Linked DNA regions of Homo sapiens: regions 2 and 3 are each linked to region 1. Evidence: promoter capture Hi-C in 16 types of primary human blood cells and fetal thymus (Javierre and others, 2016). All regions are on one chromosome and are shown on one strand. The core of a region is centred on a gene start or on the middle of the fragment in contact, and the rest is flanking DNA. Distances in the headings are between cores, read along the strand shown. Region 1 holds the start of MSI2 (musashi RNA binding protein 2). Region 2 has its middle 28 kb from the start of CCDC182. Region 3 overlaps MSI2 (musashi RNA binding protein 2).

Evidence for each region. The method cuts DNA at HindIII sites, captures the fragments that hold promoters and counts their contacts. A CHiCAGO score of 5 or more calls a contact.
Region 2: a contact is called between a fragment that was not itself captured here and the fragment with the promoter of MSI2 in region 1, in 3 of 17 cell types (total B cells, naive CD8 T cells and M0 macrophages). The highest score is 6.6, in total B cells.
Region 3: a contact is called between a fragment that was not itself captured here and the fragment with the promoter of MSI2 in region 1, in 1 of 17 cell types (megakaryocytes). The highest score is 5.4, in megakaryocytes.

The regions. Positions count from the first base shown.
Region 1 is chr17:57,255,273-57,257,972 of GRCh38, reverse strand. It overlaps MSI2 (musashi RNA binding protein 2), which reads right to left and starts at 1,450. Exons shown (of 14, transcript NM_138962.4): 1 at 1,169-1,450; 2 at 835-875; 3 at 426-507. The coding sequence starts at 1,230. It overlaps LOC101927510 (a long non-coding RNA gene), which reads left to right and starts at 977. Exons shown (of 3, transcript XR_007065860.1): 1 at 977-1,031. RefSeq lists a silencer at 1,266-1,895. The HindIII fragment of the contact is 32,545 bases long and covers 1-2,700 here.
Region 2 is chr17:57,715,629-57,718,328 of GRCh38, reverse strand. No RefSeq gene overlaps it. Among named protein-coding and RNA genes, the nearest start is that of CCDC182, 28 kb to the left of the region's middle. The HindIII fragment of the contact is 1,002 bases long and covers 862-1,863 here.
Region 3 is chr17:57,576,448-57,579,147 of GRCh38, reverse strand. The region is part of intron 7 of MSI2 (musashi RNA binding protein 2); the gene reads right to left. Among named protein-coding and RNA genes, the nearest start is that of MSI2-AS1, 31 kb to the left of the region's middle. RefSeq lists an enhancer at 1-193. The HindIII fragment of the contact is 283 bases long and covers 1,199-1,481 here.

The DNA.
Region 1 (2,700 bases), core at 201-2,700:
ACGCTTTGTTTTATTCCGAAGAAAGCCCGGCACTTAGAAGAGATTTACCACCATCTTTCTAAGAGGGATCTTAAGAGTTTGGGGAGCTGGGAGTGTGGGGGAAACACACATTAAGATCAAAAGAAAAAAAAAAACTATGCGAAAGTAAATGAAGCTGAATGTCATTTTAAACAGAGAAAAAGAAGCGACGGGAAAATGACTTAAAAGCAGAGAGATGGGTATCTCTGTATCCAGAGTTCAGCTCCAATTAACAATAACCTCTGGGGTTACTAGGGGGCGGTGGGGGTGGTATAGAGCGCCGTTCGAGATCAGCCACGCGCCTGAGCCCCATTCTAATCCGCTTAGCTACTTCCGAAGACACCTCCAAAAATAAAACTTAAACTTTGTTCTAAAATAAAGACAAAATCCAGAAGGGAATGGTTTACCTGGAGCGTTTCGTAGTGGGATCTCTCATGACCATACATTCTCTAATTTCTCCAAATTTGCTAAAATAGTCTCTAAGGCTATCTGTAGAGAGAGAAAGAGAGAGATGGGGGGGGGAGAGAAGGTGTGGAAAAAAAAAGCAATGCAAATTTTGATCAAGGACAAAATCCAAAAGTAGTTTTCTGTTGTTATTCTGTTTTGTTTTTGCATTTTTTGCACACGCGGGGGAAATTCGGCAACAGAGGTCGCATAGAGGGCTCAGAAAGGATTTGCTATTTAAAAAAAATAACCTTGCACAGGAGAAGTGGGGAGCCAATGGCGGGGGGGGGGGGGCTCCTACACCGGGATAACAAAGAGCAATAAAGAAGCCAAGAAGGGGGGGACCCAGGCGTCCCCCCCTCCCTCCCTTACCTGGTGAGGTCTGCCAGCTCAGTCCACCGATAAACATTTTACTAGAGGGAGAAAACATAACAGAAGTGAGCACCGATGTCAGATCGGCCATTTTGACGTGTAACTTACAAAAGCTAAAAGGAAAGCGGGGGGGAGCGAGCGAGCGAGAGCCGGGAGGTGGGGTGGGGGAGAAGGTGACGGCGAAATGCAATCCAAAGGTGTGTAACTTCCACGGGGGGGGCGCGCGGGAGAGGCGGGGGGGCGCGGGAGATGCCCGGCTCCGCGCACCGCCGTCCCCGCCGCTGCAAGGAGAGCGAGCCCAAGGCGGCGCGGTGGGCAGCGGCTGGAAACTTACCCGGGGTCGTGCTGGGAGTCGTTGGCGCTGCCCGAGGTGCCTTGGCTCCCATTTGCCTCCATATCTGAGCCCCCCCGCCCCCCCACCCCCAAAAAACCAAGCCCCACAGCGATCGGAGCGGAGCGGCGGCCGGCTCCGAGCCCCGAGATCTCCGCTCCCTCCTCCCCCTCCTCCTCCCCCCCGCCCGGGCTCCTCCGAATCTCTCTGCGAGCGGCGGAGCCGGGGCAGCGGCGAGAGCCGTCACACGTGGGCTCGGCTTAGCTCAGCCCCGCTGCCTCGCACACCCCCCCGTCCCCGCCCCCCCGGCCCATCCCCACCTCTCCCCCTCCTCCTCCCCACCCCCATCTCCTCCTCCTCCTCCCCCTCCTCCCCGGCGCACGTGGGGCGGAGTTCTAGAACGTCGTGTAACCAATGCCGGTGACGTCACGCACCCCCGTGCGGCCCCCGCCTGCCCGCGCGCGCACACTCGGCCCCCCACGGCCGGACCCACAAGGGTGGCGCGCGAACCCCGCGGGCGGAGGGGACCCCGCCTCCGGGCCGGCAGGGCGCAGGGCGAGGGGGAGCGCACCCCGACTTCCCTGGATCACATGGGCTGCGGGGGGCGGGTGGATCGGGGGAGGGGAGGCGCGGGGAGCTTGCTGCGGCTCCTCACCCGGACCTGGGAGAAGACGCCCCCCACCCTCTCTAGTTCGCCCTCTCCATTCAAGTTTGCCGGCCCCTGCCGCCGAGATCCGGGAATGGCACCAGCCGCCCGCCCTCCGCTGTGCCCTGTTTCCAGCCACCGCTCAGAAATTTAGGTCAAGGACGTCGGGAGCAAACCCACACCCTGGCGCTCCTTTGGCGGCCCCCGAGACGCCCCAGGATCGGGGGGCTTCAGGATGGCGGAGACCCTCCTGCACAAACACCAGCCACAAGTTTTATTTTCCTTTTGCGCTGGAAGTTCTCTCTGGCTCTGGCTCCACACCGGCACGTCTTGCGCGGTTCCCCGCCCTTCCCCAGTAGAGGTACCAATCCGTGCCCGGGAAAGGTTATTTTGGAACTTTGAGAAACTGACGCGATTCCAGTGGCGAGAAAGTGCCGAAGAAAGGGTTTCCGCGTTAATCATACAGTGTTTTAAAAATGTAATAAGATAGGTTATAGGAGTCAAGGTCACATGATTGAGGTTCAAAGCAAATGTTTGTATATAACGAGAAGTACTTTTGGGGTGTCTCTGGGATGGATGGGAAGGGTGGTTATTTCAGGAAACCCCTGTGTAATCCGTTCGTTATATATTTTATTTCTCACCCAGCCTTTGTATGCCAGGATAGTAAAGTGCATGATACTGAAATAGCCCAAGACCCCTCACGACCTGCAGAGGTAGCTAGGGTGGCAGAAGGCTTCAGAATCACTCCCACCTTAGCAGCAGTAGTATTGTGCAGCACGGGTTCTGGCATACAGTAGGTGCTTAATAAATGCGGTTTCATACCTTCATGCACTGAAAACTCCAAAAAGACAATGTCTGTAGCCTTCCAAAGGCATCGCATGAAAGTTTC
Region 2 (2,700 bases), core at 113-2,612, 460 kb before region 1:
ACCTCCACCTCCCAGTTTCAAGCGATTCTCCTGCTTTAGCCTCCTGAGTAGCTGGGATTACAGGTGTGCACCACCATGCCTGGCTAATTTTTTATTTTTTTTTTTAGTAGAGCTGGGGGTTTGCCATGTTGGCCAGGCTGGTCTCAAACTCCTGACCTCAGGTGATCCGCCTACCTCGGCCTCCCAAAGTTGCTGGGATTCCAGGCGTGAGCCATCGCGCCGGCCTGTTTATTTATTTTTTACTTAACATGTCAGCATGTAGTTTCCAGGCTCTTACAAAGTCTGGAGGCATTTTGATTGCTTTGTAAGAGTCCATAGACTGGACGCTCTGTAGATTGCTTAAATTGTCTCTTGTTTGGGGCCTTCCTTTTATTTGTTTCCAATTTTTCATTAAACAACACTGCAATAATTTGTGCATGCCTTTTTTCCTACTGAAGATTCCTTCCTTTAGACAGAATTCCAGGAATGGATCTATTCTCTCTTAACTGTGTTTGATTGACCCTTTTGTGTTTGAAGACCGTCCTCTGTGATACAGACATTTGGAACTCAGTGAAGAGGTGAGGTGTTTCTGCTTCCTCCTTACCACCCAGTCCCATGTCACCATCCGCTCCAGTTGGCAGATTCTTCTTGCTCCCACGACAGCTCAGAAGCCCTTCAGGTTGTGGACAACATGGTTTTTGTGTGTTTTTTCAAGCTCTCCTGACTTGAGTCTGGGTTCACCCTCCTCTGACGATTTTTCTCTTCCACAAAGACTTGTTTAACTAGTTCTTGTGAAGGCAGACTCTATTCTTTTCCACTTCATTCCCAAAACTCCTTTGTCGAAGAAAATAAGGATCTCACCAAGGGTTTCCACAGAAAGCTTGGGAGATGAAAAATAATTGAAGGCCTCTCTAGCTCCTGCCTCCTTTCTTAATGACTTTATCACCATAGGGTAAGTTTAGGCCATTCTGCCATTCCTTTGACACTGACACCTCTGATACCTTAGCTAGGATCCAGCCGTTGCCATCTCCACCAAGAAAGGGCTAAAATTATTTGCTCCTTAGCTTCCGGGTAGAATCAGAGGACTGTGAAGGGTGGTGGGGAGAACCCTCCTGGCTGAGCTGACCTAGACCACCTTGATGATGGTGAAGATGTGAACTTAGCTCGTCTGTGTGGGCAGTTATGGAGCAAGAGTTTTGTCCATGGGCTGGGGCAACCTGTCCCCAATGAATGGGGCTCCCCGATGCTAAGCACCACCAGGATGATATCTGTGCTATCCACCAGGTTTTATGTTCTTCCTGCCAGACTCTTCTTCCTCCAACAGCACCTACCATTGGGTTTGTCCTAAATTTTAGCACCAGGCACCTCACAGGCCAGGTCTAGTTCTACCATACCACATAGTCTATGTTGTGCTTCTATGAGCTGTGCCAGGCATAAAGACTCCAAGATAAGGCACCTCTTAGACTATCACTTTTAAGGAGTAATGAGGAAATTGAATGGGAAGAAGGGGTTTGAGGGCCCTTGAGTAAATGATTTGGAAAACTAGGGAGCCATCCAGGTCCTGGAATATAGGTCAACATGTTGGTTGGCAAGGAGGGGACTCTCATCATGTGCCCCTGTCTAAGGCTGCTTGGCATGGTGGGAGGAGACTCCCAAGAGGGGGTTAGAACGCCTGGTTCCACTGTTGGCCCTGAGCTTAGTAGCTGTGTAATTTTAGGCAAGTCACTTATTCTCTCTGACCTTCAAAAAAAGAGAGAACTTGACCCGGATAGGTGGTTCTCAGTGTTTAGAGTTTCAAGACTCCGGTGATGAGTTACTCTATTTTTATTATCCATTGCTTGAGAAGAAATGTCTGTGACTTTGGGAATGCTGCAGGTGTAAGCTTTGCTGGAAGGCATCCCTCATGCTGGTGTCCTAGAGGTGTCTGAAGCAAGGTTCAGGGTCTGCAAGAACTCCAGGAAGCCGCTCTTCTCCTGCTTCCCCTTCTATTCTCCTCCAAAGACTATAAGTAAAAGGGGACAAGGGGCTGGGGGGATGGGAGATGGGGGATGAAGGGATAGGGGAGGATGGGGTAGGGAGATGAGAGGATAAAAGAATGGGGGATGAGGGGAAGGGGATAAGGAGCTGGAGGATGGGATTGGGGGATGAGGAGCATGGCTATGTAAGAGGTAGGATGGTGTTGCCTGTCCTCTTTATCTTCTTCTTTTTCTCCTGTCCTCACTTCATGGAATAGGCTATTTTTGGTATAATCCTTCAAAGCAATGCTATGCAAGGTGGCGAGAATGGTTGTTGTCTTGTAGCTGCTCCCCTTTAAGAAGAGAGGGTCTACCAGCACCCATACCTACCACTCCCACCCCAGATGGGAATCAGGACAATATCTCCCCAGCCTCAAACTCCAGAAGCAAATCTCAAAGACCAGATGGAGCTGGTTTCCTAGGGGCAGGAAGAAAGGAGAAAGGAAAAGGAGAAGTAGAAGAAACTCTCAGGCCCCCACCCGAGGCTGCCCATCACCCAGCCTGATGGCTCCTCTGTATGCCAAGGCTCAGAAGACACTGCAGAGTCCCTCCTGCAGACTCTCCGCATGCCGACAGATCAGGGACCAACAAGGCTGCTGCAGCCAGGAAGCACACAGACAGCCCAGACAGGCCTCCAGACAGGGCAGAGGGGCAGCAATTCCTTGGAAAATGGAGAAGCAGGGAAGGCAAACAAGTCTTGGTGGAG
Region 3 (2,700 bases), core at 91-2,590, 320 kb before region 1:
TATATCCAAATTCACTTTATTGCACTTGACAATACAGATAATCACATACCATATGCTCTAATGTTTTGAAACCAATGCATGTTGACAGCGGTTTTTATTCATGATGCATAATTCCATCCCCAGCTCACAATGAGGCATCTGAGCACCCAGCCTGGTGTTAAGACTTTTGCCTAATAACAGATTAACAATACAGCAAGTTTCCGAGACACACTCCCTCCCATGCCATTTTCTGTTTACAATGGGAAAAATGTACCTGGGCTGAAAAGATGGGCTTATCAAAGAGGAGGGGGAAAAAGAAAAACAACCCCGCATCATCACACACCCACCAGTCCCAGAGGGTTTATAATGATTTGTTACTGTTCCACGCTTATGAAACTTGATATTGAAAAGAGGAATTGGTTTTGCGCCAAGTAGCAAGGCAACTAATCACACCAACCCACACTGCTGGCCCCTGAGAATGGAAAGCACAAACTGCCCCAAAGCTCTCATTAGGAGTCTCTCTTGTTTTTACTCCTGTTTTGCTAGAAGCAAGTATTTGTCACTCCTCTACCTTGGTGAGACCATCCTTCTCCCGTCCCCTTCCCCTCATCCCCTGGGCATTCTTCTGTTCCCAATTAGCCCCAAGCTTCCTGGCGAAATGAATACAGCTGGGGATGCATCCTACCCCCCCAGTCCTGGCACCTCTCAAGCAGAAAGGCAAGGCCAGTAGGAACTGTCTTTGCAGCTCCTTCAGCGGCAGAGCCCCTTGTTCTGCGGGGTGGCTGAAGAGAAAGGGTGGATAATTTAAAGATGATCCCCTAGCTTTGCTGTAGTGCCCAGAACAAACAATGCCATTTCATACGTCCCCTAACTAAGCACTTTCATTTGCTTCAGAGAAGCACTCAAACAACTGTAAACCCATTAGATCATGTCAAACGTGGTGGGAAAGAGCTTGGGCTGTCACCAGCAGAGAATCAACTCAGATTTATAGATTCTTAAAGCTTTAATATATAGATATTTGTCTTCCCCCTGCAGATAGACAAGGGGACCAGGGCAGGGGCGGAGGAGGCAAGAAGAACGGCCCACAGCTCAGCGGCAGACAGATTGGAGTTTCACAATCATTCTCCCGGATAATGGGATTTCTCAACAAGGGGAGGAGCGGGGAGGAAGAAAAGCGAAGCCTTCACTTTGCTGAACACTTGGCTGTTTTTCCAAAGCTTTGCTTGCGGGTGGTGTGGGGGAGGAAAGAGATGTTATTATCAACAATGCCTCTGGAGTACCCAGTGACCTGCCGTGAACAAAAGCAAGTGGCGACCAAAGAAGGGCTGGAGTCCGAGGACGCAGAAACACTTACTCAGCCACCTACAAAGGAGGCCAAATGAATTAAGAGGCATCTTACTCCAAGTAATTGCTGTGCTTCTGAACAGCTTAAGTTATAACCTTTTTTCATAAATAAGAACCTACTTTCCCTTTGGGCTTACATCATGACTCCAAGAAAAGCTTTCTCTTTATTTCTTAATCATCTTCAGCAAGTAGGGGGCTCTTCCTACTACCTCAAAGGGTTTGGAATTTTCTTTTTAATTTTTTTCATTTTATCCTTTTCTCTTGCTTGTCTATCATCTACTGAGCATGGCAGTAAATAACTGGTAATTAAACCAATATCTACTGGAGACCAGGGCTTAAAGATATAATTTTATACAGAATCCTCCTGAAATATTACCAGTTGGGCTCTATGGGTCTGGAAATGGGACGGTTTGGACCAGGCTGGACTTTCATAATGCAGGACCCACCAGTGGTTTGCAAAGTGGTCCCTGGCCCCATCTTGCTGCCTCATCAATTCTAGTCTCTGAATATTTCTGGGGAAAGGGGCATCACCCCTCGGTACTTCATAAACACAGCTTGTTTGAGTTGGGCATCTTGAGGTGTTGCTAAATTCTTCAGCCCAAGGATCAGCCTTTCTCTTGGTAACTTCACAAACGGCCACTCATGGTTGGGGAAGCAGCCTGGCCCCCCTCCCAGGGGTAGTCCTTCAAGATCTAACGTAGCCACCTCATTTCTCCTTATTCGAGTCTCCTTGGTTCCTCTGGAATTTTTCCCGTAATACTGTCCTGGTCCCCATCAGACGACCTCCTCTGATGTGGTCTATCTTGTCAATGCCCCTCTTAAAATAAATGCCTGGAATGGAATATTCCACATGGGGTCTGAGCAGTGCAACCAAATACCGGACTGGACTTCCCTTTGTGGTGGCGTCCTTAGCAGCTCCATCACCTGTTGCCTCAAAGAAAACTTAACAGTCAACTAAAAAAACCCCAGGCTTCCTATAAACCATGTCAAAATCTCGCCCTGCCCAACCTTCCTTTTTTTTTTTCTTTAAAATTAGACATCGATTATAGTCATTTTTTTTTTTTTTTTTTTAAAGACAGATTCTCGCTCTGTCACCCAGGCTGGAGGGCAGTGGCGCATCTCAGCTCACTGTAACCTCCACCTCCAAGTTTCAAGCGATTCTTGTGCCTCAGACTCCCAAGTAGCTGGGATTACAGGCATGCACCACCGTGCCACTAATGTTTGTATTTTTAGTAGAGACAGGGTTTTACCATATTGGCCAGGGTGGTCTCAAACGCCTGACCTCAGGTGATCCACCTGCCTCGGCCTCCCAAAGTGCTGGGATTACAAGTGTGGGCCACTGCACCCAGCCAACATGGATTATGGTCTTCTGATTAT